4 separate regions of the Homo sapiens genome follow, and all the other regions are linked to region 2. The links are contacts of gene promoters, found by promoter capture Hi-C in blood cells and fetal thymus (Javierre and others, 2016). All regions are on one chromosome and are shown on one strand. Each heading gives the region's core, a stretch centred on a gene start or on the middle of the fragment in contact. The rest is flanking DNA. Distances are from core to core; before and after follow the strand shown.

Region 1 (6,999 bases), core at 3,827-6,326, 170 kb after region 2:
GAATGATAAATCCTATGATATAAATATACCAAATATCCCATTTAGGGACGTTTAGGGAAGGGACATCTAAATGTCAATTTAATGAGTCAGGGAGGGCTTCCCAGAGGAGGTGATGTGTATGAGCTCAATTTTGAAGGACAGTGGGAAAGAAGCAGTTGGGAGATGGAAAAACGCTTAGAGCAGTTATCCTTGTATAGGGTTACTGAAGGATTCAATTCTGAGTAAAGTGTGAGAGGGTAAACCGACATACGTGAGGCTGACTCAAAAAACACTCCCTTGAATGCAAACAGATATGAAAGAACTTTGCAGGTATTAAAGTTCAACTGTAAATTATTATTATTTTTTCTTTTTTTTTTTTTGAGATGGAGTCTCACTCTGTCACCCAGGCTGGAATGCAGTAGCACAGTCTTGGCTCACTGCAACCTCCACTTCCCGGGTTCAAGCGATTCTCCTGCCTCAGCCTCCCAAGTAGCTGGGATTACAGGCACACACCACCATACCTGGCTAATTTTTGTATTTTTAGTAGAGATGGGGTTTTACCATGTTGGCCAGGCTGGTCTCGAACTCCTGACCTCAGGTGATCTGCCTGCCTCACCTTCCACAGTGCTGGGATTACAGGTGTGAACCACCATGCCCGGCCTAACTGTAAATTATTTCAAAATTGTTTATCTTTTAGTTTTGCCTCCCTAACTAGAGTGTAATGTCTTTAAGGGTGGGGACCCTGTCTTTTCCCTCTCATTTCACTACACGTTTTTCATTTATTTATTTATTTATTTTTACAAGGACTCTGGCTCTGTTGCTCAGGCTGGAGTGCAGTGGTGCGATATTGGCACATTGCAACCTTTGCCTCCTGGGTTCACGCGATTCTCCTGCCTCAGCCTCCTGAGTAGCTGGGATTACAAGCGTGCACCACCATGCCCGGCTAATTTATTATATTTTTAGCAGAGATGGGGTTTCACCATGTTGCTCAGGCTGGTCTCAAACTCCTGACCTCAGGTGATCCGCCTGCTTCAGCCTCCCAAAGTGCTGGGATTACAGGCGTGAGCCACCACGCCTGGCCTTCATTCTACTACATGGTTTTTGAAATGCCTTAGTCATCCTTCAGATCTTAGCTTAAAGACTCTCAAACGTTCTCAGTTTATGATGCCCTTAGTGTCTCAGTTTTTTTTTTTCATAGAAACTCTAGTGCAAAAGAAATACCTAACAGCTATATTAAGTAAGTAATTAGGTCTAAACAATACTTAAGAAGTATTTTCTAACAAGTTAGTAGCTGTTTGAAGAAATGATACATAGAAATTAGGATAAAAAATTAGGAGAAAAAAAGTAGCAATTTAATTTCTTTTTTTTTTTTTTTGAGACAGAGTCTCACTCTGTTGCCCAGGCTGGAGTGCAGTGGCACGATCTTGGCTCACTGCAAGCTCCACCTCCTGGGTTCACACCGTTCTCCTGCCTCAGCCTCCTAAGTAGCTGGGACTACAGGTGCCCACCACCACGCCCGGCTAATTTTTTGTATTTTTAGTCAATCTCCTGACCTCGTGATCCCCCCACCTCGGCCTCCCAAAGTGCTGGGATTATAGGCATGAGCCACTGCACCTGGCCTTTTTTTTTTTCTTTTGAGATGGAGTTTCCCTCTTGTTGTCCAGGCTGGAGTGCAATGGCTTGATCTTGGCTCACTGCAACCTCCACCTCCCAGGTTCAAGCAATTCTCCTGCCTCAGCCTCCTAAGCAGTTGGGATTACAGGCATGTGCCACCATGCCCAGCTAATTTTGTATTTTTGGTAGAGATGGGGATTCACCATGTTGGTTGGACTCCTGACCTCAGGTGATCCACCCACCTTGGCCTACTAAAGTGCTGGGATTAGAGGTGTGAGCCACAATGCCTGGCCTTTTTTTTGTTTTGTTTTGTTTTTGAGACAGAGTCTCACTCTGTCACCCAGGCTGGAGTGCAGTGGCTCCATCTTGGCTCACTGCAACCTCTGCCTCCCGGGTTCAAGAGATTCTCCTGCCTCAGCCTCCTGAGTAGCTGGGACTACAGGTGCCCGCCACCACGCCCGGCTAATTTTTGTTTTGTTAGTAGAGACGGGGTTTTACCATGTTGGCCAGGCTGGTCTCGAACTCATGACCTCGTGATCCGCCAGCCTCAGCCTCCCAAAGTGCTGGCCTCCCAAAGTGGCTCCCAGGCATGAGCTACTGCGCCCAGCCTAATTTCATTCTTAAGTAACCACACTTACTAATGAAATGTATATGCCTGTTGTGTACTGTTTCTCATACGCTGGAATCATATTGGACACTTCCACCTGCATTTCTTATTAATTTTATCTCCCTGTCTCTTTTCTTTCTCTCTCTCTTTTTTTTTTCTTTTTTGAGTCGGAGTTTCACTCTGGCGCCCAGGCTTGAGTGCAATGGTGCGATCTCAACTCACTGCAACCTCGGCCTCCTGGGTTCAAGCAATTGTCCTGCCTCATCCTCCCAAGTAACTGGCACTACAGGTGTGCGCCACCATGCCTGGCTACTTTTTATATTTTTAGTAGAGACGGGGTTTCACCATGTTGGCCAGGCTGGTCTCGAACCTCAGACCTCAGGTGATTGCCTGCCTTGGCCTCCCAAAATGCTGGGATTACAGGCATGAGCCACCGTGCCCGGCCCGTTTGTTTGCCTTCCTCTCCCCCTCCCCATCTCTCCTCCTCACTCCTCTCCCCTCTCCTCCCCTTCCCTTCCCTTCCCCAAGTGATTCTCCTGCCTTAGCCTCCCAAATAACTGGGATTACAGGCGCCCGCCACCATACCCGGCTAATTTTTGTATTTTTAGTAGAGACGGGTTTCACCGCGTTGGCCAGGCTGGTCTTGAACTCCTAACCTCAGATGATCCACCCGCCTCGGCCTCCCAAAGTCTTGGGATTATAGGCATGAGCCATTGTGCCCGGCCTATTTTATTTTTTTATTTTCTTTCTTTCCCTTCCTCCTTCTGTTCCTCCTTTCTTCCCTCCTTCCCTCCCTCCCTCCCTTTCTTCCTTCCTTTCTTCTTTCCTTCCTTCCTTCTTTCCTTTTTTCCTTCCTTCTATTCATTCATTCTCTCATTCATTCACTTTGTTGCCCAGGCTGGAGTGCAGTGGCACAATCATAGCTCATTGCAGCCTCCAACTCCTGGACTCAGGCCATCCTCCCACCTCAGCCTCATGAGTAGCTGGGACTACAGGCACATCACACCATACCTCTCTAATGTTTAAAATTCTTGTAGAGAGAGGTTTCATTATGTTGCCCAGGCTGGTCTTGAACTCCTGGCCTCAAGCCATCCTCCTGCCTCGGCCTCCCCAAATGCCGAGATTACGGGCATGAGCTGCTGTGCCTGTCCCACATTAATTTTCATGTGATACTTGTTTTTATCACAGCAATAGCCCATAAAATCAGCCTCACAAAGATATGATGTAATTGAAAGGAATGTGCCATGATCTTTTTGTTGTTGTTGTTTTTGGTTTTTGTTGTTGTTGAGACAGAGTGTCACTCTGTCATCCAGGCTGGAGTGCAGTGGTGCAATCTCAGCTCACTGCAACCTGTGTCTCCCAGGTTCAAGCGAATCTCCTGCCTCAGCCTCCCGAGTAGCTAGGACTACAGGCATGCGCCGTTACCATGCCTGGCTAATTTTTGTTTATTATTAGTAGAGACGGCATTTCACCATGTTGGCCAGGGTGGTCTCGAGCATCTGACTTCAAGTGATCTGCCTGTCTCAGTCTCCCACAGTGCTGGGATTACAGGTGTGAGCCATCGTGCCCGGTCCATGATCTTAAGTTGAAAATTAACTATCTTGTGTTCACTTAGTGTCACATTGACTATTGCTGTGTTTCCTTTAAAAAATTAAACCCAGGGCACTATTGTGAATTTGCTGTACCACATTCCAGTTTAGATGCTAATGCAAAAGGATTGTAATCACTGAAGACCTCCAAAAGTCACGTAGGAGTACAGTATTTTAACGGGTAGCTTTCTGAATTGAAATCCAGAGGATTAGAGAAATCAATCTAGTAGTGGGACTTTTTGTCCAGGTAAGAGAGAGAAAGGATGGGGACTCTGCTGGGAGTATAGAGACAGCACATATATTTTGATGTCTTATTTTTTTGTTTCATGTTGGCCTAGTCACACTGATTCTTACTACCTTAAAGCTAATACTTTTAGCCCAATTGCCATATGAAAATGTGTTTGCTCTTACATTTTAGTTGCTTTAATCTGACAAATTAAGAACATTTTTACAGACTAAACATGTGATAAGAGCATTTAGAACTTTAATAGGGAACAGGTGTGACAGACATACTGTTTGCTGACAGTTTTATGCTGCCTGGTGCGTAAAGTTAACAAACCATCACTTTGGTAAAGGAAAAAGCACCAGTTGTTACTTACTAGTCTCAGAGGCCTTCACTTTGAGGGACTGGGTCCTATGAAACATGTTCTTCCATGCCTGGTTTCCATCAGTCTTCTCCAGAAGACCCATAAGCTGGTTCCATTCCCCGTTGGAATGTATCCTATGTCAACAAGCAATTGAATATGCCTAATTTGGGGCTACACAAAAGTCTGTTTCCATACCCACTTTGTGTTTGGAGCTTCCAGAATGTGTTAGTCATTGATTGGTATTGGAAAATGTTACATGTTTAATTTAACCCACAAGCTTTACCTGTATAATTATGTATGATTTAGTTAGGTAATAACATGAATTTTCATTTTCTTGGTGCCTACTGGGAGTATAGAGACAGCAAAGATGTTTTGATTGTATAATTGGGTGTTGACTTAATGGTTAATTTAGGTTTTCAAATAGAGTTTTTCCTTGCTATGTATCATTTGAAGGGCAAGGGAAGTGAAAAGTGGAAATGGTAATGTTTCAGAAGTGGGGAAAGGCAAGGAGGAAGCAAAGGAAGCAAGAAGGATGGTCAGAATCAGGCTGAATCAAGGTGGGTCAAATATGCCTAGCTTTCTGTGTGTGGATAAAGTTTCTGATCTCATCTGCAAGCCAGGACATAACAAAATGATCAACTTTGAGTTTCTTCTTTAACTCCCACCAGTAGATTCTGTTATTCAATGGCCATAGTAGCTTGAAGACGAAAGACTGCATCTCCATATGGGTCACCTAGGAATTACCTCAGAGGCCTGTTGTGGAATAATAGAGTTATTGAGAGTGAGGAGACCTGGATTCAAGTGCCAGATTTCTTTCCAGTAACTGGCAAGTCAGCTTATCTCAATTTCCCCTTTTGTAAAACGAAGCGTATAGAGGAGTAGATGGTCTTACCAGCTCCAAAACAGATCTGTACCTCAAAACTTCTGTGTTAGATAGCATATAACCCAATATAGTCACACCCAAAAGGCAAAATATCCAGTTACTATGAATATGTGTGCCTTCTTTGCTATTCTGTAGCGTACGAGTTGGAGCACCAAGGAATTATGTTTAATAAATTCCTTTATTTCATGTTCATCTAGAACTTCACAGTGGTAACATTGCACCTATAAAGTTGAGAAAAGGAAAGCTTTTTGAAATGTAACAGTTGCTTGTGTGTATTTTTAATTAAAAAATTTTAAGAAATGTGCTATTAGGGCCAACTTTCTAAATGTTCTTGTTTGTTTGTTTGTTTGTTTGTTTTGGAGACAGGGTCTTGTTCTGTTGCCCAACTTTCTAATTTTTCTTTTTTTGAGACAGGGTCTCGCTCTGTTGACCAGGCTGGAGTGCAGTGGCGCAATCTCGGCTCACTGCAATCTCCGCCTCCCGGTTCAAGTGATTCTCCTGTCTCAGCTTCCTAAGTAGCTGGGATTACAGGCACGCGCCACCACGCCCAGCTAATTTTTTGTATTTTTAGTATAGATGGAGTTTCGCCATGTTGGCCAGGCTGGTCTAAAACTCCTGACCTCAAGTGATCCGCCCACCTCGGCCTCCCAAAGTGCTGGGATTATAGGCATGAGCCATCTTGCTCAGCCTTATTATTATTTATATAGAAACAGGGTCTCACTGTCTTGCCCGGGATGGTCTCGAACTACTGGGTTCAAACAGTCTGCCTGCCTCAGCCTCCCAAAGTGCTGGAATTACAGGTGTGAGCCACCATGCTCCACCTACTGTTTTTTTTTCTTGAGACAGGACCTTGCGCTGTCACCAGGCTGGAGTGCAGTGACATGATCATGGCTCATTGAAGCCTCTACTTTTCGGGCTCAGGTGATTCTCCCACCTCAGCCTACAGGCACAAGCTTGTAGTCCCAGCTACTTGGGGCCAATTTATGGGTTGAGGTTGGGGAGGGGGTGTTGTTTTGGTAGAGGTGGGGTTTCACCATGTTACCTAGGCTGGTCTTGAACTCTTGGGCTCAAGTGATCTGCCTGTCTTAGCCTCTCAAAGTGCTGAGATTACAGGCATGAGCCACTGTGCCCAGCTATTTTGGTTGCTCTTATTTAAAGTAGAGTGTGCGTACATTATAGAAAAATTGGAAAATACAGGCCAGGTGCCGTGGCTTATGCCCGTAATCCCAGCACTTTGGGAGGCTGAGGTGGGCGAATCACGAGGTCAGGAGTTCGAGACCAGCCTGATCAACATGGTGAAACACCGTCTCTACTAAAAATGCAAAAAAAGAAAAGAAAAAATTAGCCAGGCGTGGTGGCACGCACCTGTAATCCTAGCTACTCAGGAGGCTGAGGCAGGAGAATTGCCTGAACCCGGGAGGGCAGAGGTTGCATTGAGCCGAGATCACGCCACTGCACTCCAGCCTGGGCGACAAAGTGAGACTGTCTCAAAAAAAAAAAAAGAAAAGAAAAATTGGAAAATACAGATCCCCCACCCTTCCCTAGCTCCTGGTAAGTTCTAATCTACTGTCTCTACGAGTTTGCCTATTTTAGGTACCTCATATAAGTAGAATTATATGATACTTGTCATTTTGTGTCTGGCTTATTTTACTTAACATAATTTTTGTTTGTTTGTTTGTTTGTTTGTGACGGAGTCTCGCTTTGTTGCCCAGGGTGGAGTTCAGTGGCACGATCTCAGCT
Region 2 (6,670 bases), core at 426-2,925:
ATATATACCATGGAATACTATGCAGACATAAAAAGGAATGAGATCATGTACTTTGCAGGGACATGGATGGAGCTGGAGGCCATTATCCTCAGCAAAGTAACACAGGAACAGAAAACCAAACACTGCATACTCTCACTTAAAAGTGGGATCTTTTAAGTGAACAAAAAAGAGGGGAACAACATACAGTGGGGCCTGTTGGGGCAGGGGTGGGGAGAGCATCAGGATAAATAGCTAATGCATGCTGGGCTTAATATCTAGGTGATGGGTTGACAGTTGCAGCAAACCACCATGTTTTTACCTATGTAACAAACCTGTACATCCTGCACATGTAGCCTGGAACTTAAAATAAAATTAAATTAAAATTAAAAAGAAAACAGCACCACCACCATCAAGGAAAGCCTGTTCCCAACCTCCAATTCCAGCTCACTAGCTCAGCCTGTCTCATTCCCCTTTTTCTCTCTCCCCTCTCCTCCCTGCCCCTTTCCTCACTTTGCCCCCACCTGTCCTCACCATCCCACCCCATACCTCCAAGCTCACAGCTAGAACTGACCAAAGGCCCAGTTATTTATTTACAAAGTCCATGTCCAGAACTGTACCAGCCTCAGCGGTGTGGAATAAACTGGTGTGGCCAGGTCCATTGTGCTGATGCCTCAAGAGATCCAGGCTGGTACAGATGGGTCTGGCACATTCTGTACCTGCCAGCCAAGCAGAGCATCCAGCTTACTTCTCACTCGACTCCTTACATAACGCTCGTCGGGTACTCTCCATTCCTTGGGCTTAAATTCCATAGTGTAATATTAGTAAACCAGGCTAAATGATCCTAAGGATCTTGCTAGCTCTGACGCACCGTGATCTTGCATCCAATTCAGTTCACTCTGTAATAAATAATCATAATAACAATAGTAATTTTCCAAATAGCTAACAGTTATTGTGTACTGTATGCTAAGCACTATTCTATGTATTTCATGTGAATGTTTAACATTCATAACACCACTTATCATGTAGACATCATTTACTGCCCTAATTTACAGTGAACTGGAGCTCCGAGAGTCACGTTGATTTAACCACAGTCCCAGGCTACCAAGTGTCCAAGCTGTGCTGCTTCCAAGCTGCCTGACCCAGACCTGAGCTCTTAACCTCTCAATGGGCATCCAGGTCGAAAGCAGAATCTCTGGCTCAAGTGCCGACTGCCCAGCTGTTTCAGAACTCCACCATGCACCCAACTGCTCCTCCAGGACTTCCCTACGGATGTGTTGCAGGCTCTGAAACGTCACACATCCACGCCGCATCCTCATCCCACACATGCTCCTGCTTGTCCCTGGCATCTGCCATTCTCAGTGCCATTCACTAGCCTATATGATGCCTTCGAATCAGAGGAAGTTACCTCTCCCTCCAGGGATACGGGCCCACACCTGGTCTCAGGGACCCTTTAGTGGAGGCACAGTCTATATAGCCCAGAGCAGTGCCCCTGATGCCATCGTCTTCCAATTTGCTCAGAGCAGACACTGGGATTCATCCTTAATATCTCTCTCTTCTCTCTCTCTCTCTCTCTCTCTCTCTCGCGGAGGCCCCACTGCCCTTGCATTCCACAGGAAGTCCCAGTTGCTGGCATGACCTGAGAGGTTCCTGGGACCACGCCATGGAAATGCGTCCGGTCCCAGTGTGACGGGGAAGAGCCGCGCCTGAAGCTCAACTTCCGAGGCTCTCATCAATCTACGCTTCCTTTGGAGCGTGCAGCCACCAGGTGGCAGCCGAGGCCACGGGCAGACAGAAAAGCTCCCGAAACTGAAGGACTGCCAGGCAGCAGAGTTCCGGAGGGCTCCCAGGACCTTCAACCAGAAAGAGACAGAGCATATGCGCATATGTATGTCTGAGCCCGTGCACGGAGGAGGAGTATGAACAGACACCGCGGGACAGATGGCTGGAGTTTAGTCCCTTCCTTCGGGGCTCTTCACCACTCCTTGGGCTTCCCTTCTCCTGTCCAGCCCTGTCCTGGGTGCACAGAGAGGGAAGTCACTCCATTCCTGCCCTTGAGGAGCTCCCAGACCCAGGGCAGGAGCAGGATGCAGACAAGTAGACAGCACCCTGGGGTGGGTGGAGTGAGTGGGGCAGGTGGGGCGGGTGCAAAGAGAGGGAGGAGCAGGGGCTGAAGTTGCCCGGAGGAAGTGCTGAACCCAGGAGTGGGGAAAGGAGCATCTGGGAAGAAATGGCATCTACGCTGATCATGGAGGGCTTTCTGGCAAGTCTCAGGAGCAATAATAACACGGATGTCATCTCTGTTTCCTCCCAGCAGCCCTGCAAGGAATGTACTATAGAGCCAATTTTACCGGCAAAGGAATGGAAGATCTGAAAGGCTAGGCGATCCCACAAGCATCGAGGAGCAGGCTGGAATTTGAACCAATCGGCATGATTCCCAAGCTCAAGCTTTTGGCCACCCCTGCACTGCCAGGGACAAAAAAAAAAAAAAAAAAAAACCCTGGGAGGAGAGCCAAGCTAGGGAGTCAAGACCCTCCAGCCAGGTCTGGATGGGAGGCAGGTGCCTCCACCCTGGTCCCAGAGCAAGTTCTGCTGGCTTCAGCCACCTGACTTCCCTGTGAAGGTGGGTAGAGGCCAGAGCAGACTGTGTGTGATTCTGGCCCCAGCCCCAGCACCTCTACCCCCACCTTTACTACCCCTAGGCTGCGGGAAGAGGCTTTGCCCAGCAATAGTCCTGATCTAATGGATCCTTGAAGCACAATAAACAGATAGTATTTCTGCATGTGTCACTCTGAGTATGACGGCAGTAATCTTGAAACTCCCCTTGACCACCTGGCACTCTGGAGACGGAACTCCACAGCCTGTTTTCAAAGCCAACTCCTGGCTGGAAGTTCCTCTTCAAGTCTAAATGAAGTAAGCAGTGCTGCAGTCTTCCCTCAACTGTGCAGTTGCTGGGTGGAGGCTTTTCTTTTCTGCCTGAGTTTGGGTATAACCTATAATGTAACCCTATGAAACTTACATGTTTTAGGTGGGAGAGGGGAAAACAAGGTGCAAGCCCTGTTCCAGGAAGAGCAAAAATGTCCTCAACAGTAAGAGGACATTCTGGGCTGAGAGCCAGGGCTTGAGGCAGCCTGCAATCCTGGCAGATAGCTGGTGGAAGGGACCACAGAGAGATGATACCACACACAGAAGTGAGACCAATGAGATCGTGGGAACTGCCCGGCCAAGGGTTGACATCAAGGAAGCTTAGGAGGCAGGGGACAGCTGGGAAGGGGACAACCAAGAGAACCAGCTGGAAACTGAAAAGGGATGCAAGAGAGAAAGAGGAGGTGGGCACTGAGCTCAGGTGGAGGAGGAGAAAGGCAAACAGGAGAGAGAGAGGCAGAGGATGAGACAAAAACAGAGGTGGAGAGACTGAGAAACAGGGAGACAGAGATGGATGGAGGCTGGGAGAGACAAAGAGGAGACAGGCCTGGGCAGGAGAGGTCCTACGTGGGGAGAAAAGGTTGGGAAGAGAGCAGGAAAGAGAGAAGGAGCACAGGTGTCTGGAGGTTCCCACCAGGCCCAGCCCACCCCTCCTGCAGGCTGGGTCTCTCCCTTGTCTGCCAATCACGAAGCTCAGGATCCCCTCCCTCAGGGCTGGGGGTGGAGAGCTCGCCTCCAGCCCCGCCCTAGTCCAGAGGCTCCCCCTCCCCAGGCCCTGGGAGGCTGCCCCTGGGACTGGCTGTGCAGCGATAGATGGTGGGGGCCCAGCTGGTGCGTTATCAGCCTTCTCCAGGAGCGCGCCTGAGCCACTCCGTGGCTGCCAGTCTGAGATTAGGCCCCCGGAGGGTCATTAAGCGCCACCCTGGCCCGGGCCCAGCCTCCTTTCCCTCCCCGATCTGGCCAGGCTGGCAGGTGGGAATGAGCGATAAGGATTGGGGGTCTCAGCAGTTCTGGGGCCAGCAGCTCCCTGCTCCCAGCACTCCCCTCTGGATCAGGGCAGGAACATGGGGTGAGGGTGAAGGGCTGTAAGGTCAGTGCCGGCCCAGCCCCTGCAGGAGCCCCTAGGGTTCCCACTCTCCTAGATCTGCCCATATTGAGCAAGACAGAATGAGAAGGGGGCCAAGGAGGCTCTTGGAGAGGCCTCAGACAGCTGCTGGGGAGCAAGGTGAGCCCAGGCAGAAGCAGGCTTCTCCTGGCAAAACCTCACAGGTGTGAGGGGCTGGGATTCACTTGCTGCAGGGAGACAGGGATGGTGGCTCTGCCTTCTGGCCCTGGCAGGCTGGTGGAGTGACCTGACTCGAACCCACTCCCACCCCCCAGGGACAACTGAGGGCAGAGCTGGGAGGAAATGTGGCCTCGTGCAAGGAGAATCGGATCCGGCAGTCAGAAGCTTCCCACCAGGAGACAGGAAAGGAAGAGGGGACTGTTTGTGCCTTAGCAGAGGCCTGACCCTCTAGGAACCTCTGTCTCTCCTTCAGTGAGTGGAGAAGCTGGGCTGGCTGCTGGCCTGGCTTTGCCCTCTGGTCTAATCAAGGAAGACTTCCCAGAAGAGGAGGAACCTTGGTTGGGTCAAGAAAAAACAATGCGCAGAGTTTAAACTGGCAGAGGTGGGGTGAAAAGGCATGAGTCACAGGCAGCCACGTAAGCAAAAGCCTAGAGTAGAAATCACAAGCCACAGTTCATTAAGCCGAAGCCCAGAGAGGGGAGGTGACTTGTCTCAAGACACGCAGAAAAGCAAGGATAGGCCTGGAGCAAAGCCGCTGCTCCCCGACCCACAGGCCTCTTCCCTCTGCTGCAGGCTGCATCCTAAACCCAATGAGGTGAGAAGAGATGATTCCCATTTAAGATGAGTCTTCCCCAGTGGTACTTGGTGAAGCCTTGGAATAGCAAAACAATGGCCATAACATAAAGCAAGGGGGCTGTGACAGGTTGAGACAAGTGGCAGAGGGAGACCTTTGGGACAAGGTGGATGGCCTCCTACCTTCTGGCCCCACTTCTCTGGATCTGGGAATTATCCTGGATGAGTCTCTCAGGTTATCACCCTGGACAGAGACAGAAGCTGTTCGCATAAGGCCAACAGTCACAGAGGTGAGGGGCCTCCAGGTTCAGCCAGCCAGGCAAGGCATGCCTCCCCTCTCCCCTGCTCCTACTAGGACCCAGTTTCCTGATCCTCCCTTCCCAACCCTGACTCCCACCCCAGGACTGGGCATTGGGAGGGCAGGCATAGGCAAGGACTGGGCTCTCCTCCAGCTCTGCCGTGAGACTGGCCAAATCTTCCACGGAGAGAAAGCTCAGCTCAGAGAGGACAACAGCTTTCCCAAGTTCACACACAAGTTGCCAGAGGACCCAGGACTCAGATCTGGGCTTCCTGAGTCTCAACCCAAGACTGCTTCCTGACACTTCCTATGCCAAAGCCCAGCACGGAGGGGCTACTGGAGGGAGACAGAGCTAGATCTGTGTGAACCCACTGTGACACCTCCAGCACAGAGGCAGAGGGTGAGCGGCGCTGAGCAAGGAAAAGCCCAGAGTCTCAGGGATGAAGGATGTTTGGGGGCGGGGATTTCCAAGAGGGGCGCTACCTGGAGCAAGGGTAGAGTGGGTGAGCTCTCTGGCCCATGGGCCTCTGACATCCTCTTCCTTCCCTACATACAGGAAACTGATCAGCACTAGGGGAACCTAGCTCATATTAGGGTCTGCTCTGCCCTGCCCTGGGAAGCCTTGCCTGGCTGCTCTGGTTGAAGAAAGGGTTTGGCCTGAGGGGACAAAAACCAGCCCATTGGCAGAAATGGGCTCACCTGTCCTGGTCTCCCTGCCTCCCAGTTCTCCCAGGTGTCATCAGACACTCCCATTTGAGGGTGCTTCACTCTCAAACACCAGAAAGGCACCAACCCTCTCTTACCCTCACCCTGGCCACACACTCTCAGCCCCTCCCCAGCCTGGGCCCCCTCGGTCCCAGCTGCCCTGTGGGCACAGGGGCTTCCTGCATAATCCCCCAAAGCCACTACAACAGAGTCGGAAGGTGACTGTCATGATTCAGAAAGCAAGATGGGGACTCACTGGAAGCCTGAGGGGCTGTTGCTGAGCCTCAGCCCCAGAAATACAAAAAGTCTTTATTTCACAGAAATTAGGGCCATTTCCATAGTTATGGGGAAGGACGTGTGAGCAGGATGGGAGGTGCTCAGCTGACTGTCCTCTCCAGAAGGCTCTTCTGAGCTGAGCAGGAGACCCCAGGGCCACAGCCGAGCCCCAACCTAGACACGGTCTGAGCTCCAACCTTGGCTGGCTATACTTCAAGGGCGGGTAGGGCCGGCATGGGGCTGGAGGGAGTCAGCCCACTATTGCAGATTCCACACAAAGAAGGAGGGGGCTTGGGTGGTAGCACTGGACATCCATCCCATGTGCCTGGGAGTCTTGGGGTTGGAGCCACAGAGAAGGTTACATCGGGGTGCTGCGGACCTTGCCTTCCTCCTCGGGCACATTCTCATAGGCATTCTCATGCTCACTGGACCTGAAAGAAGAAGGCATGGGCCTGATGGGTCATCGCTCCTCCCATTCTATCCCCTTCTCCCTGCCCCTTCCTGCACTTGTGACAGTAATAGCTTCCAGAATAAACACTTGACTCCCAGAAGGGGATTGTCCTGACCACATCTGGGCTTATGCATCCGAGACTGGAGGCCTCTCAGCATCCCCTCCCTGACACCTATCTCCC
Region 3 (6,483 bases), core at 1,004-3,503, 190 kb after region 2:
CTTTAAAAAGGGGGTTGGGAGTGTGGGCTGCCTCAAATCTTAACATCGAAGCTAAAGATAACATTTAATTTATCACATATTTATTGTATACTTGGATAAAATGAAAACTCCATTGAGGGAGTCTTAAGAATTTGGGATGATATGGTTGTTGTAACTGAGCGATAAATATAGTTATCTTGGTGTCTTTAATATTTGAGAGTAAAAGCATTTTTAAAATCAATTGTATGATTCTTTTAATAAAAAGGAACTTGCAAGTTTATGTGGAAGAAGAAGCTTTTCTTTTTGTTTTTCTTTTTTCACTTTTTGAGACAATGTCTTGCTCTGTCACCCAGGCTGGAGGGCAGTGGTGCAATCACGGTTCACTGCAACCTTAAACTCCCAGACTCAAACAGTCCTTTTGCATCAGCCTTACAAGTAGCTAGGACTACAGGCATGAATCACCATACCCAGCTAATTTTTAAATTTATTTTTTATTTTTTATTTTTATTTGAGATGGAGTCTCGCTGTCGCCCAGGCTGGAGTGCGGTGGCACGATCTCAGCTCACTGCAACCTCCGCCTCCCGGGTTCAAGCGATTCTCCTGCCTCAGCCTCCTGAGTAGCTGGGATTACAGGCATGCACCACCATGCCTGGCTAATTTTTGTGTTTTTAGAGAGATGGGGTTTCACCATGTTCAGGCTGGTCTCAAACTCCTGACCTCATGATCCACCCACCTCAGCCTCCCAAATTGTTGGGATTACAGGTGTGAGCCACTACGCCCAGCCAGGATATATTTATCTGAACATTATAGCTATGAAGAATAAAGATATCCATTAAGCAAACTGGATTATGGGAAATATCTTAAATTTTTCTTTATTATTTAATATACAAGCAAAACTTCTTTATTGTAGAAAAATTAGAATATAGAAATTAACACAAAGGAAAAAAAGTATAGTCCTACCACTGGGTTGAATGAATTCTGATATTTTTCCTATGTGTGCTTCTTTCAGAAATATGGCTACACACACCTTTCTGCAGGAGAGCTGCTTCGTGATGAAAGGAAGAACCCAGATTCACAGTATGGTGAACTTATTGAAAAGTACATTAAAGAAGGAAAGATTGTACCAGTTGAGATAACCATCAGTTTATTAAAGAGGGTAAGGAGTGTGAATGCCAACCAGTTCAAACCAGCGAGGAAAGAAGAAATTAAATTCACCTTTTGGCCAGGCAGTTGCTCATGCTTGTGATCCCAGCATTTTGGGAAGCCAAAGCAAGAGGATCACTTGAGGCCAGGAATTCAAGACCAGCCTGGACAACCTAGTGAAACCCCATCTCTACAAAAAAATTTTTTAAAAAGCCATGCGTGGTGGCATATGCCTGTAGTCCCAGCTGCTTGTGAGACAGAGGCAGAAGGATTGCTTGACCCCAGAAGTTCAAGTCCAGCCTGGGAAACATAGTGAGACCTCCTCTCAAAAATAAATAAATAAACAACAATAATAATAAAAATAAATCCACCTTTCATATGTGTAATGAAAAATATCAAAGATTTTTTGTTTTGTTTTGTTTTGAGACAGTGTCTTTGTCACCCACGCTGGTGTGCAGTGTCCTGATCACAGCTTGCTGCAGCCTCAACCTTCCAGGCTTAAGCCATCTTCCCACCTCAGCCTCCTGAATAGCTGGGACTACAGGTGCATGCCACCACACCTAGCTAATTTTTTTCTATTTTTTGTGGAGACAGGGTCTCACTATGTTGTGTAGGCTAGGCTGGAACTCCTGGGCTCAAGTGATCCTCTCACCTCGGCCTCCCAAAGTGCTGGGATTACAGGAGAGAGCCACCACACCTAGCTCAGAGTATTGAATTTCTTGCTTGTGGAAGGTGGTTATGCTTGAGAATGGCAGAACTGGAAACTTTGCTTTCACCTGGGAAGAAAGCGGACAGTGGCAAGGATTCTCTGCTTTGATTTAGGATCACCTATAGCTCAACTTAACATCCATTTATGTGCACTTGGTCCTTTCTTCCCAACATTCAGACAGTTATTCTCTTCCATTTCTGTTTCATCTTTTTTCCTCCCTCTCCTGCTCCCTTTCCTTTTTTCTTTTTTGCTTGCTTTCTTTTTTTTTTGAGATAGAGTCTCGCTCTGTCGCCAGGCTGGAGTGTAGTGGCGCGATCTCGGCTCACTGCAACCTCTGCCTCCCGGGTTCAAGAGATTCTCCTGTCTCAGCCTCCCGAGTAGCTGGGACTACAGGCGTGCACCACCATGCCCAGCTAATTTTTGTATTTTTAATAGAGATAGGGTTTCACCATGTTGGCCATGATGGTCTCGATCTCTTGACCTCATGATCTGCCTGCCTCAGCCTCCCAAAGTGCTGGGATTAGAGGTGTGAGCCACCGTGCCCGGCCCCCAATTTTTTTTTTTTTAAATAAACCTCTTTCTTTCTTCTTTCTCTCTCTTTTTTTTTTTTTTTTTGGCGGGGAGACGGAGTTTCGCTCTGTCGCCCAGGCTGGAGTGCAGTGGCGTGAACTCGGCTCACTGCAAGCTCCGCCTCCTGGGTTCACGCCATTCTCCTGTCTCAGCCTTCCGAGTAGCTGGGAGTACAGGCGCCCGCCATCAAGCCTGGATAATTTTTTGTGTATTTTTTAGTAGAGACGGGGTTTCACCGTGTTAGCCAGGATGGTCTCCATCTCCTGACCTCACGATCCACCCGCTTGGGCCTCCCAAAGTGCTGGGATTACAGGCGTGAGACACCATGCCCAGCCCTTTCTCTGTTTTTTAACCCACGTCCCTCTCATCATTGATGTTCGCTCAGCCATGGTGTCTACTTTTCTGGTGTATCACCATCTTCAATGTGAAATGCTAAGACTTAAGAACTTTTAAAACTAAAATATGTCACATCTGAGGCTGGGCGCAGTGGCTCACGCCTGTAATCCCAGCACTTTGGGAGGCCGAGGCAGGGGGATCACTTGAGGTCAGGAGTTCGAGACCAGTCTGGCCAACATGGTGAAACCCCGTCTCTACCAAAAAATATAAAAAATTAGCCAAGTGTGGTGGCACACACCTGTAATCCCAGTTACTTGGGAGGCTGAGGCAGAAGAATCGCATGAACCTGGGAGGCAGAGGTTTTGGTGAGCCAAGATCATGCTACTGCACTCCAGGTTGGGTGACAGAGTGAAACTCTGTTTCTTAAAAAAAAAAAAATGTCCGGGTGTGGTGGCTCACGCCTGTAATCCCAGAACTTTAAGAGGCCAAGGTGGGTGAATTACGAGGTCAGGAGTTCAAGACCAACATGGCCAACATGGTGAAACCCCATCTCTACTAAAAATACAAAAAAAAAAAAAAAAAAATTAGTCGGCCGTGGTGGCAGGCACCTGTAATCCCAGCTGCTCGGGAGGCTGAGGCAGGAGAATTGCTTGAACCAAGGAGGCAGAGGCGGAGGTTGCAGTGAGCCAGGATCGCACCATTGTACTCCAGCCTGGGCAACAGGGTGAGATTCCGCCTCAAAAAATAAATAAATAAATAAATAAATGTCACATCTGAAAAACAGACACCCTGTATTTACTAGGTAACTCTTCATTCTAGATTCCTAGAACTATAATCATTAACAGGTATTTTCACATAGAAGAACAGTGAGGGAGAAAAAGAAATGCAATATTGGGAACAACAAGAAATGGCTGAAGCCTGATGGAAAAGAGCTATGTAAGCATCTGGTTGGAACTAAAGACATTGGGGATGAAAAGTGGCTTGTACACACATTCTTACCTCTTGTCTCAGAGGTTGGAGTAACCTGCTTCCATTCCAAAATAAACAAATCTCTCTCCCTATTCACTCTTTCTAATGTCCTTTCTCTGCTCTATAAAGCAGAGAAAGTATTATGAAAGAGCATATGGTTTTTACTTTTTCACTCTCTACTTTTCCACTCTCTACTTTTCAACCCTTTGCAGTCAGATTCTGTTTCCATCTCCATTGCAGCTGCTCTTGCATGTTACCAATGATGATCTCTATCAAATAATACTTTTGTCATTATTTTTCTTGTAGTATTTAACTTTAATCAGTCTGTTTGAAAATCATTCCTCCTTTGTTCTTTATGACAGCGTCTCTTTTTCTTCTCTCCCTACTGAGTGACTGCTATTTCTCTATCCTCTTTAATAGTTATTCTTTTGCAAGTTTCCAAAACCATGATGCTTCTCAGGGTTTTATACTTGGTCTTATTCAGCTCTCATTTCATATGTTTCTTTCTGGATGGTTTTAGCCATACCCAAAGCTTTCACTATGCTCATGCTGCTAAAGTCTATAGCTCTAAAACAAAATGTTTGTTTTGAATTCCAGACATATATTTTTAACTACCTAACTACTAGGCCTTTATTTGAATGTCTCACAAGTGTCTCAAAATCAACATGTCAGAGGCTGAGTGTATTGTCTAAAATGTGATCTTCCTTTACTTCCTGTCTTGGTTAATGGTTCTGCCATCTACCTAGCTACTCAAGGCATAAATCTGGGAATCATCCTATATTCTCCTGCCTCTTCCTCACTTTCCCAAATCCATTCAGTGAGCATATCTTTCCAGTTATTTTTCTTTTAATCCTCTTCTGTTAGTCTCTTCTCTGTCATCACCTTAGTTCACATCCTCTTTTTTCCTATTTTTTTTTTTTTTTGAGACAGAGTCTCTCACTCTGTCCGCCAGGCTGGAGTGCTGTGGCACGATCTCGGCTTACTGAAACCTCCACCTCCTGGGTTCAAGCATTTCTCTGCCTCAGCCTCCCCAGTAGCTGGGATTACAGGTGCCAGCCACCACGCCCAGCTAATTTTTGTATTTTTAGTAGAGACGGGGTTTCACCATCTTGGCCGGGCTGGTTCTTTTGTTGCCTTTGTTTTGGGGCAGCCAGTGACATTTGGGTTTAATTAGCTTCCGTTAAAAAGTATTTTATCCTACATTAATAATTAATGCTAATGGTCTTTTATATTTGTCCAAAGCTTTGTGTTGTTGGACTTGAATTATATGAATAGCAGAGTTGAGCACCTGTAGAAGTAATATACTTTCCACTATAGCAAAACGACTTGGGAAGAGCAAAGGGAATAAAGAGAGGGTCTCCAGTTGCTGGAGCAAAGATAATGGTTAATGGTTATTTTCCTCTTATTGCCGCTCTTATTGTTTATTTATAACTTTGTGAATGTGTATGTGAAAGTAACATATACTTAACTGTAGAAAATTTGGAAACCACAGAAAAAAATTGTGTGTATAAAATGAGGTGGTTTTGAGAGGGGCATATACCCATAACCACACCAACTTGAGGCAACCATCTTAATACATTGATAGATTTCCTTCTAGTCTTTTTTCTTTCTTTCTTTTTTTCTTTTCTTTTTTTTTTTTGCTATGTACCCTCCACCCTTTACTTATGGTTTAAATAATAATAATAAAACACCCATGTATACACTACCATGCTTGAGAAATTTCATTTTGTTAATGTTGTATTGAACCTAAATCTTCTTTTTCCTTTAGGAAATGGATCAGACAATGGCTGCCAATGCTCAGAAGAATAAATTCTTGATTGATGGGTTTCCAAGAAATCAAGACAACCTTCAAGGATGGAACAAGACCATGGATGGGAAGGCAGATGTATCTTTCGTTCTCTTTTTTGACTGTAATAATGAGGTAATGAAAATCTTCATCTGCCCACATAGGCTTTAAGCAACTGTTAGTCAACTATTAGAAAAAACAAAGGATTTTTTAACTTATATTTTATATTGGCAGCAGTGTTTTTTGAATTGGTAGATTGGATGGACGGAACAGCACTGTCTTGCTGTTGGAGTATTAAAAACTATTTGGCATTAGCAGCCTTGTGGAGCTAAATTTTCCTTTATTTTCAAAATAACAAGAATCAGTTTTGATTTTTAAAAAATAAGAATTGACATACATAATAATATTAGGTAATGAAGCTGAACTACTTTCTTAGGTAGACATTATTATCAAAGAGTATTTTGCCTTAGGGTGTTGTTTACTGGAAGAGAAACACGTTTCTGAGAAGTTGGGAAAACTTTCTGTTTTAAAGAAACATACAGGGCTGGGTGCGGTGGCTCACGCTTGTAATCCTAGCAGTTTGGGAAGCCAAGGTGGGCGATCACCTTATGTCAGGAGTTCAAGACCGGCCTGGCCAACATGGTGAAACCCCTTCTCTACTAAAAATACAAAAATTAGCCTGGCATGGTGGCATATGCCTGTAATCCCAGCTACTTGGGAGGCTGAGGCAGGAGAATTGCTTGAACCTGGGAGGCAGAGGTTGCAGTGAGCCAAGATGGCACCACTGCACTCCAGCCTGGGCGACAGAGCAAGACTGTCTCAAAAAAAAGAAAAAAAAAAAGAAACATACAGGATAGCCTGATTTGTCTTAAGAGTGAAATGATCTTGAAAAAAGTAAAAAAATGTACTTTTCTTTCTGGTAGTTCTAATAATGAAGCCAGACATACTTTTGAATAACTAAATACATTTCTCAGAATCATTTAATTAAAAA
Region 4 (7,242 bases), core at 1,106-3,605, 220 kb after region 2:
GCACCTGGCCTCCAAGCATCACTTCAAACAACCATATCTAAAAGCAGAAGTGAGTACAGAGCAAAGGCTTTCTCCTTGAGTGACTTTAAGAGGGAGGAAAATCTTAACCCAGAAGTCCCCCAGTATTATCTCTGCATATCTCATTGGCCAGAATTGGGTTGTACCCTCTCCTAACCAAGAGAAATGGGCAAAGGAAAAGGAAGAGGGAAATGATTGTTGGGTGGACAACCAACAGTGTCTGCCATACTTGTTGATGTGGTGGCTCTAGGAGAAAAAAGAGTTAGGTGAGAAAATGATCCAAGGCTCAAGAAGGAGCCTTCCCTACTTCCAGAAGCAAAGCTGCCTCAGTGGCAACAAGTCTATTGAAAGCTCCTTCTTTAGATAGACAGCATGGTGTGCTGACTAGAGTTCTGCTCTGGGAGGCAGAACCTGGCTCTAGTGTGGTATAATATTGCTGAGTCAGTTTCGCATTCTGTGCCTCAGTTTCCTCATCTGCACAATGAAAGGATTCCTTCTAATTCATTCAGGTTAGGAGAAGCCAGGGCAGAAGGGAGGTGCTGGATGCTTAGCTTGTGTGTAGGCAGTGAATGGTCCAAGTCAAGCTCAGCAGAGCCTGCCTCTAGCCACAGATGCTAGGATTTGCCAAACAAACCCTAATCACTTAATGAGAAATGAAAATGGTGGCTGATTCCTCCACTTAATTACCCCTTTGAAAACAACACACAGGAGATTTACAGTAATCACCATAATCGCCTCATAAAAACCCGAGAGTTTGAAGACGGACACGCCTCATTTCTGGGAGGAATTAGAGGCAAAAATCAAGGCAGGGAATTTCTGGTCTGCCTTGGCCTTGGCTCCCTGTAATCCAGAACTCTGGCCACAGAGTGCCCGCTACCCTGGATAGCCTCCCGGTCCCAGCCAAATATTGTTCCTAATGCTCCACAGCCAAGGTGTCCTTGCAGGCCTGCTTCCTGGGTCTCCTCTGTCATGTACCAAGAAGACTCACAACTCTGAAGGTCAGGTGGAGGTCCTTTAGCAGGAGACAGAAACATCTCTGAGTCCTATCACTTACAAAATCTGAGGTAAAAGACTGGAGGGGAGGTTGGGGGACACAGGCTATTCCTAGCTGTAGAAAGCCATAGCTTATAGGTTTTCCTGAGGCCATCCTGTCCTGACTTGTACATCTTCCATGACGAGGAGTTTAGATCTCCTGGGACATTTACTGAGATACAAGGACAGCTAGAAGATTCACGCTCTGCTCAGCAGAAATCTGTCCTCTTTCAGCTCCTTAAAACTAGACTCAGATCACTGGGCATCAAGGTTATAAGTGTCCTCTGGGTTTATCTTCCCTCCATAGCAATTTCTTTCTTTCTTTCCTGTCACTCTCCTACGTGCAATTCATTCATTTATTCAAAACTATTAAATACCTAATGTGCATCAGAGACTATCAATTATATTTTTTTCCATTTTTTAAAAGAGATGGGGTCTCACTCTGTCACCGAGGCTGAGTGCAGTGGCATGATCATAGTTCACTGCAGCCTTGAACCCCTAGGCTCAAGCGATCCTCCTGCCTCAGTCTCTCATGCCCAGCTAATTTTTAAATTCTTTGTAGAGATGGGGTTTCACTATGTTGCCCAGGCTGTTCCTAAGCTCAAGCACTTCTCCAGCATCAGCCTCCCAAAGTGCTGGGATTACAGGCGTGAGCCACTGTACCCAGCTTGACTATCAATTCTTAACACAGTAGGCAGAATGATCCTTTGAAAACCTAAACCAGATCATGTTACTCCTCTGTCACTCTCCAGTGCCTTCCCAAATCAGAGTAAAGGCATAACCCTTACAGTGCTCCGCAGGACTCTCATGTCCTGCCCTTCGCTCACTCTGCTCAAGCCACACGGGTCTCCTTGCTGTTCCTGGAAAACACCAGATCCTCTCCCGCCTCCACACCTTAGTACTATCCCACTGTATTCCCACTGCCTGGAATGCTTTTTGTGTGTATCTACATGGCTCCCTCTCTAACCTCTTCCAAAGCCCTTTCTGACTTTCCTACATAAAATTGGACCCCCTCCTTCTCTAGTATACTCTCCTACTTTATTTCTGTCCATATTGCTTATGACCATCCAAAACAATACACTGCAAAATTTGCTTATTTATCTTGCTTAATGTCTATTTCTCTCTTCTAGGGGTCAAACTCCAGAGGGCAGGGATTTTCTGTCGTCTCTCTCTCTGTTGTATCCCAAACACCTAGTACAATGTCTGTCACATAGTGGGCAATAAATGTTTGTTCAGTGAATGAACTAATGAGGATAGAGCAATGAAAAATATAAAGCCCACGCCCTCAAGGAACTTGTGGTCTGACAGTAGAAGCAGACATCAGACAGTCACCCACAGGACTGAGCAACTGAATGATGCATGTTGATAAATGCTAGGTAGGGAAGTAGCAGGTGTAATGACAGTGGTCTGACTGTAGCCAGGAACACTGTTGTGAGTTACTCTGAAGAGCTGCTTGTGAGAGGATTGGAGTTTAGGGTGATGAGGGTTTGGAGCCACAAAGCTCTGGGAGGAAAAGATGCTGGAGAAGCTCAGATTGTGACTTCTAGGCCCTTTAAAGGTGATGGGACTCCAGGCAGAGGGCAACCATCTGCAAACGGGGTCAAGTGCCCACTGTGCCATGTTCAAGATATGTGCTCTGGAGCAAGCCACCTTGGCGCTGGAGTACTTGCTTCCTTATCTCTAAGATAAAGAAGCGATAACTAGCTCCTAGGCTGGTTGGGAGGTACAAGTGAAATGTTTGTCAGAGCTGGAACCTGCAGATATTCAATAAGTGCCAGCTCATTTTCTGCTCCCTTCTTCTTCGTCAAACCTTTTAACATCCAGCCTCCTTTTACCTGGCCACTCCGTTCTCTCTCCTGGCCCTGTGTAAGCATGAAGAGCTGTATGAGAAAGGGAAGCATCTAATCATCCTAAATGTACAACTGCAGGTTAACAAAGGTTAACAGGATCTTTAAGGGGCATAATTTGACAGATTAGACTGATCTCTACTGTGCCCCAGGACGCTTGGCTTTGTTGCAATTAACTAAATCTCCCATCAGCCTCCAGGCCTGATGCCTGTTGGCATATAAGACCATGCCACTAGAATGAAGAGTTGGAGCAGGGGGTGGCAGACACAGCTAGGCCCTGTGGTTCTGCCCATGGCCTCCCTCTGGGGGAAGCCCTCCTTGACTACAACCTAGAGAGAGCTCCTGCACATACCCATACATACACATACACACATGTAACACACATGCAGAGCCACACACAGCTCCCAACTCCACCCCCCACCATGGGAGGATGGACTCCCGGCTCCTCAAATCTTTCTCTCTTTACTTATTGATAGGTGGGGTAGGAGGTTGATAAGGAGGCAGCAAGTATATTACTTTTTCCCATGGTTAGCATGGACAGTGGACACACTCAGGCATTGAGCAAATTTTCACCTATGCAGGGGCCAGCCCTAGCTTTAGGCAATAGAGAAGCAGATGAATCAGATCAGAGTTCTGGCCTCAGGGCTCACATTCTAGTGGGGGAAACAGGTACGTGCACAGGTAATTATAATATAAACTACGCGATAGTGGGAACCTGAAAGAAGAGAGCTTATTTTCCCTTTGGGCTAGGGCAAGGCTTTAGGGATTAGGCAGACTTTGATCTGGGCTGAGGTAGGATGGAAGGGCTCCTAGGCAGATAGAACTGCATGAAGAAAGGCACAAAGGTGGGATAGTGTGGTACAAGTTCAGGAAATGGCAAAGCCTCTGATGTCAGGGTCAGGCTAGAGCATATGGTGGGGACATAACTGCTTTCACTGTAATGATTTGGTTTGTAACCACCCCTGGGACACCCCTCCATGAGTTAATGCCTCCCAGTCCCTCCCTATACACACTTGACACCTTGGATGGCTTTGACCAGAAGAACTCTTTCTTGTTTACTGCTTCACCTCCCTGCCTGGCCGCACATTCAGCTCCTTCAAGTCAGCCTCCCTTGCATCACCTCAAGGACACAGCGGTCCTGCTTGCTACAGAGAAGCCTTCCCAACCACTCTGGCCCACACTGGCCTCCTCATCTGATCATCTCAGATGGCTGAAGTACCGATATGGTTTCACACAACAGCACCCTTTCTAGTAAAGGTACTTTGCTACATGCTATCTTAGGATGCTATTTTCATAAGAAATCCACTAGAATCAATTCAGACAAAGAAAGGGGAAGTGATTACAAGGGAACTGGAAGTCTAAAGGAACCAAACACATAAAAGGACTTGGCCCAGACTTGGGAAAGCTCTCAGGAGCCCAGGAAATGGGAGTTTCTCCCTGCCTCTGTGCTCTTTTCTCTTCCCGGACTGACCTTCTCCACCAATCAGATCACATGGAGGAAAACATGACTGCTGACAGCACCTGACAGGTCCAGCCATGTAAAAACAATCTCCAAATTCCCAAGAGAGGAGGCGACTGGTGTAACGGAACCACATGTCCAACCCTGGCCCAATCAGCTTTGGGTAGTGGCATGGGGTCACATAAAACAAACATGGCTGCTAGGCTACACCTCTGGGGGTCATTTCTCATAGTCATGTGGATTGGTGAGTGGGCTGTTCTGAAAGAAGGGAAATAGGAGCAGAGCAGATATCCCAAAGATGCCCATTACACACGTATAATATAGTGTGACAAAATGCTCATACGACTTCTAATTCCTAGACTATCCTACTGACCTACTCTGCGACTTCAGGCAAGTCTCTACCATCTTGGGGCTGCAGTTTCTTCATCTGTACACAGAGGAGGATGGGACTAAGTGTCCTGTTGGGTTCCATAACTCTCCAGGACTTTGGCCCAATTACTTACCGCCTCTGAACTTCAGTTTTCTCATCTGTAAAATGGGAGTAATGATATCTAACTCACAGAGTTATTGTAAGACAATGGGTATGAAAATATCTAACATGGGTTGAGTACAGAGTTATTCAAGAAATGCTGGTGACCCTAGTAGATTTAAATTGGGTGGCTGTCCCGCTCACAGTGGTTTCCCCAAGGGTCATAGCTATGATTCCCACGTGTTTGGGAGAATTGCTCCTCCTCTAGTTGGGAGCTGCCATACTCCACAGTGTTTTGTCAAGGGGTGAGCATGGGTCCACATTGGGCCACTCAGAATCCTTCTCTGGGGCCTTGTTTCAACCGCAGCTCTTGTATCTTCATTTGCAGAACTCTAAGGAGAGGGGCTTGTTACTGCCAACAGCCAGACCCCAACCTTGTAAAGAAAGTGGCCTCTGAGAGTGAAGATGACATGAAGAGGACTTTCAAACACTGGGTTTCACACATTTTGAAGTCCAGTTTCATCCTTGCCCTGATTTATGAGCCAATACATTTCCTCACTACATTTTTCTTTTCTTTCTTTTTCTTTTCTTTTTTTCTTTTTTTTTTTTTTTTGAGACGGAGTTTTGCTCTGTCACCCAGGCTGGAGTGCAACGGCACGATCTTGGCTCACCGCAACCTCCGCCTCCTGGGTTCAAGCGATTCTCCTGCCTCAGCCTCCTGAGTAGCTGGGATTACAGGTGCATGCCGCCACGCTCGGCTAATTTTGTATTTTTAGTACAGATGGGGTTTCTCCATGTTGGTCAGGCTAGTCTTGAACTCCTGACCTCAGGTGATCCGCCCACCTTCGCCTCCCAAAGTGCTGGGATTACAGGTGTGAGCCACTGTGCCCGGCCAACATTTTTCTTAAGTTAGTTTGAGTTGGTATTCTGTCAATTCCTTCCTGATGATACCTTCTCCCTTTCTCTAAGCCTCGGTTTCCTTAGCTGTAAGATGATGGGGTCCCATCCTGTCCTCTTTCATCTCTGACACTTTATTACCGTATTTGTTCATTTATTCATTCAGTCAATTAGTCAATCAGTTACTTGGCATTTACTGTGCATGTTATTCTGTCCCTGGCCCTATGCTGGACACTGGCAATCTTGCTAGAGAAACAATCACTTCTCCAGTTCTCAAGACTCATATAGTTAGGTTGGGGAGAAAGGTAAGAAAGGATTCAGTACCGTGGGTGATGATGGCTGTGACAGAGAGAAGCACAGGCACTGTGGGGAAATCAGAGGACTTATCCCTGCTTGGAAGGCTTCCTGGAGAAGATGGCTGAGTTTTTCAGACAGGGGTGAGCACAGAGAGAAAAGGAAAGGTATTACAAGCGGAAGAACCTACCTTTGTAAGGGCCCAAAGGAGAATGACAGAAAGCAACAGCCTGGGTGGGAGGGGAAGGGACACAAGAGAGGAAGCTGCAGGTTCATCTCTACTCTTCTTGAACTTATTTGTATTTTTCCCCCATGAAACTTCCAGGGAACAACAACAACAAAATACTTCTCCATTTTTTAAGCTTGGAAAATCCCCTGGGTGGAGTCTTTGAGTGCAGATAGATGAAAAGAAGTGGCTCTTGACCACAGAGGAACACTGGAGCAAATGATTCTTTCTCCATCAGGGTGCCCCACTGGTCCCAGGTCCTATCAGGGAAGCCAAACTGGCTGTGACATCTAGCGGCTGGTCTAGGGCTGTCTGACGCTTCTAAAAACAGGAAGGCGGGTGAGCCTAAGGCCAACCAGAAGGCAGGAGAGCAGCCCAGGCAGGCCAGGGAGGAGTGCAAACATCCCTCCTCCCCTGATAGGAGACATACTCATTACATTTTGAGCAAAGGAGGCTCACAATGCACCCTAGAGAAAATATGCAGTTATTGCCCCTAACATGCCAAAGCCCTACTAATGACTGCACGCCTGCTCCAAAGGCACAAACCGTTCCAGATGTTGCTCCCTGCCTCTGGGAGGGCCCTTCCTTCCTCCCGCCCGAGGTTCTGGACTCTTTCTTGAATTACAGTCTTTTGAGAGATATATGCACCGCTGAGGGGCTTGGGGTGAGTGACTGTCCTCCCTGGGCCTCACAGGGACAGTCTAGGTGATCCTTGCCTTAACAGACTGTTGTAGAGACTATGCCTGTTGGCCTGGTGGGGTGGTGAGAGAAGAGGTGCTAGGCTCGGAGTGGGGAAAGTGGTGAGGGAGGTGCGTTCTAAATTTGGGTGTTCTCAGTTTTTGCATCTATGAAATGGTAATGTGTCTGTAGGGAGGCAGTAATTTGCAAACTTAATTCTTCAAACACACTCAGGAATTGCTATATCTGGATATGTACTGCATTGGAGCCATCTTCTAGCTGGGTAACTCTGGGCTCCTTCCACAGCTGTGACCTTCTGTTC

What was found. The method cuts DNA at HindIII sites, captures the fragments that hold promoters and counts their contacts. A CHiCAGO score of 5 or more calls a contact.
Region 1: a fragment that was not itself captured here is called in contact with the fragment with the promoter of LINC00853 in region 2 in 2 of 17 cell types (megakaryocytes and erythroblasts); the score reaches 9.3 in megakaryocytes.
Region 3: a contact is called between a fragment that was not itself captured here and the fragment with the promoter of LINC00853 in region 2, in 1 of 17 cell types (megakaryocytes). The highest score is 5.3, in megakaryocytes.
Region 4: a fragment that was not itself captured here is called in contact with the fragment with the promoter of LINC00853 in region 2 in 1 of 17 cell types (megakaryocytes); the score reaches 6.5 in megakaryocytes.

Annotation. Positions count from the first base shown.
Region 1 is chr1:47,344,158-47,351,156 of GRCh38, forward strand. All of the region lies in intron 1 of CMPK1 (cytidine/uridine monophosphate kinase 1), which reads left to right. Among named protein-coding and RNA genes, the nearest start is that of CMPK1, 14 kb to the left of the region's middle. The HindIII fragment of the contact is 850 bases long and covers 4,652-5,501 here.
Region 2 is chr1:47,177,575-47,184,244 of GRCh38, forward strand. It overlaps LINC00853 (long intergenic non-protein coding RNA 853), which reads left to right and starts at 1,676. Exons shown (of 2, transcript NR_047498.1): 1 at 1,676-1,864; 2 at 2,294-2,765. It overlaps CYP4A22-AS1 (CYP4A22 antisense RNA 1), which reads right to left and starts at 2,049. Exons shown (of 6, transcript NR_199717.1): 1 at 1,616-2,049; 2 at 551-875. It overlaps PDZK1IP1 (PDZK1 interacting protein 1), which reads right to left. Exons shown (of 4, transcript NM_005764.4): 4 at 6,008-6,469. The coding sequence ends at 6,397. RefSeq lists enhancers at 1,547-2,048, 3,674-3,818 and a cis regulatory region at 3,737-3,754. The HindIII fragment of the contact is 3,617 bases long and covers 1-2,422 here.
Region 3 is chr1:47,367,481-47,373,963 of GRCh38, forward strand. It overlaps CMPK1 (cytidine/uridine monophosphate kinase 1), which reads left to right. Exons shown (of 6, transcript NM_016308.3): 2 at 989-1,135; 3 at 5,475-5,627. Among named protein-coding and RNA genes, the nearest start is that of CMPK1, 37 kb to the left of the region's middle. The HindIII fragment of the contact is 3,965 bases long and covers 272-4,236 here.
Region 4 is chr1:47,399,282-47,406,523 of GRCh38, forward strand. All of the region lies in intron 3 of LINC01389 (long intergenic non-protein coding RNA 1389), which reads right to left. Among named protein-coding and RNA genes, the nearest start is that of FOXE3, 13 kb to the right of the region's middle. The HindIII fragment of the contact is 8,041 bases long and covers 1-6,376 here.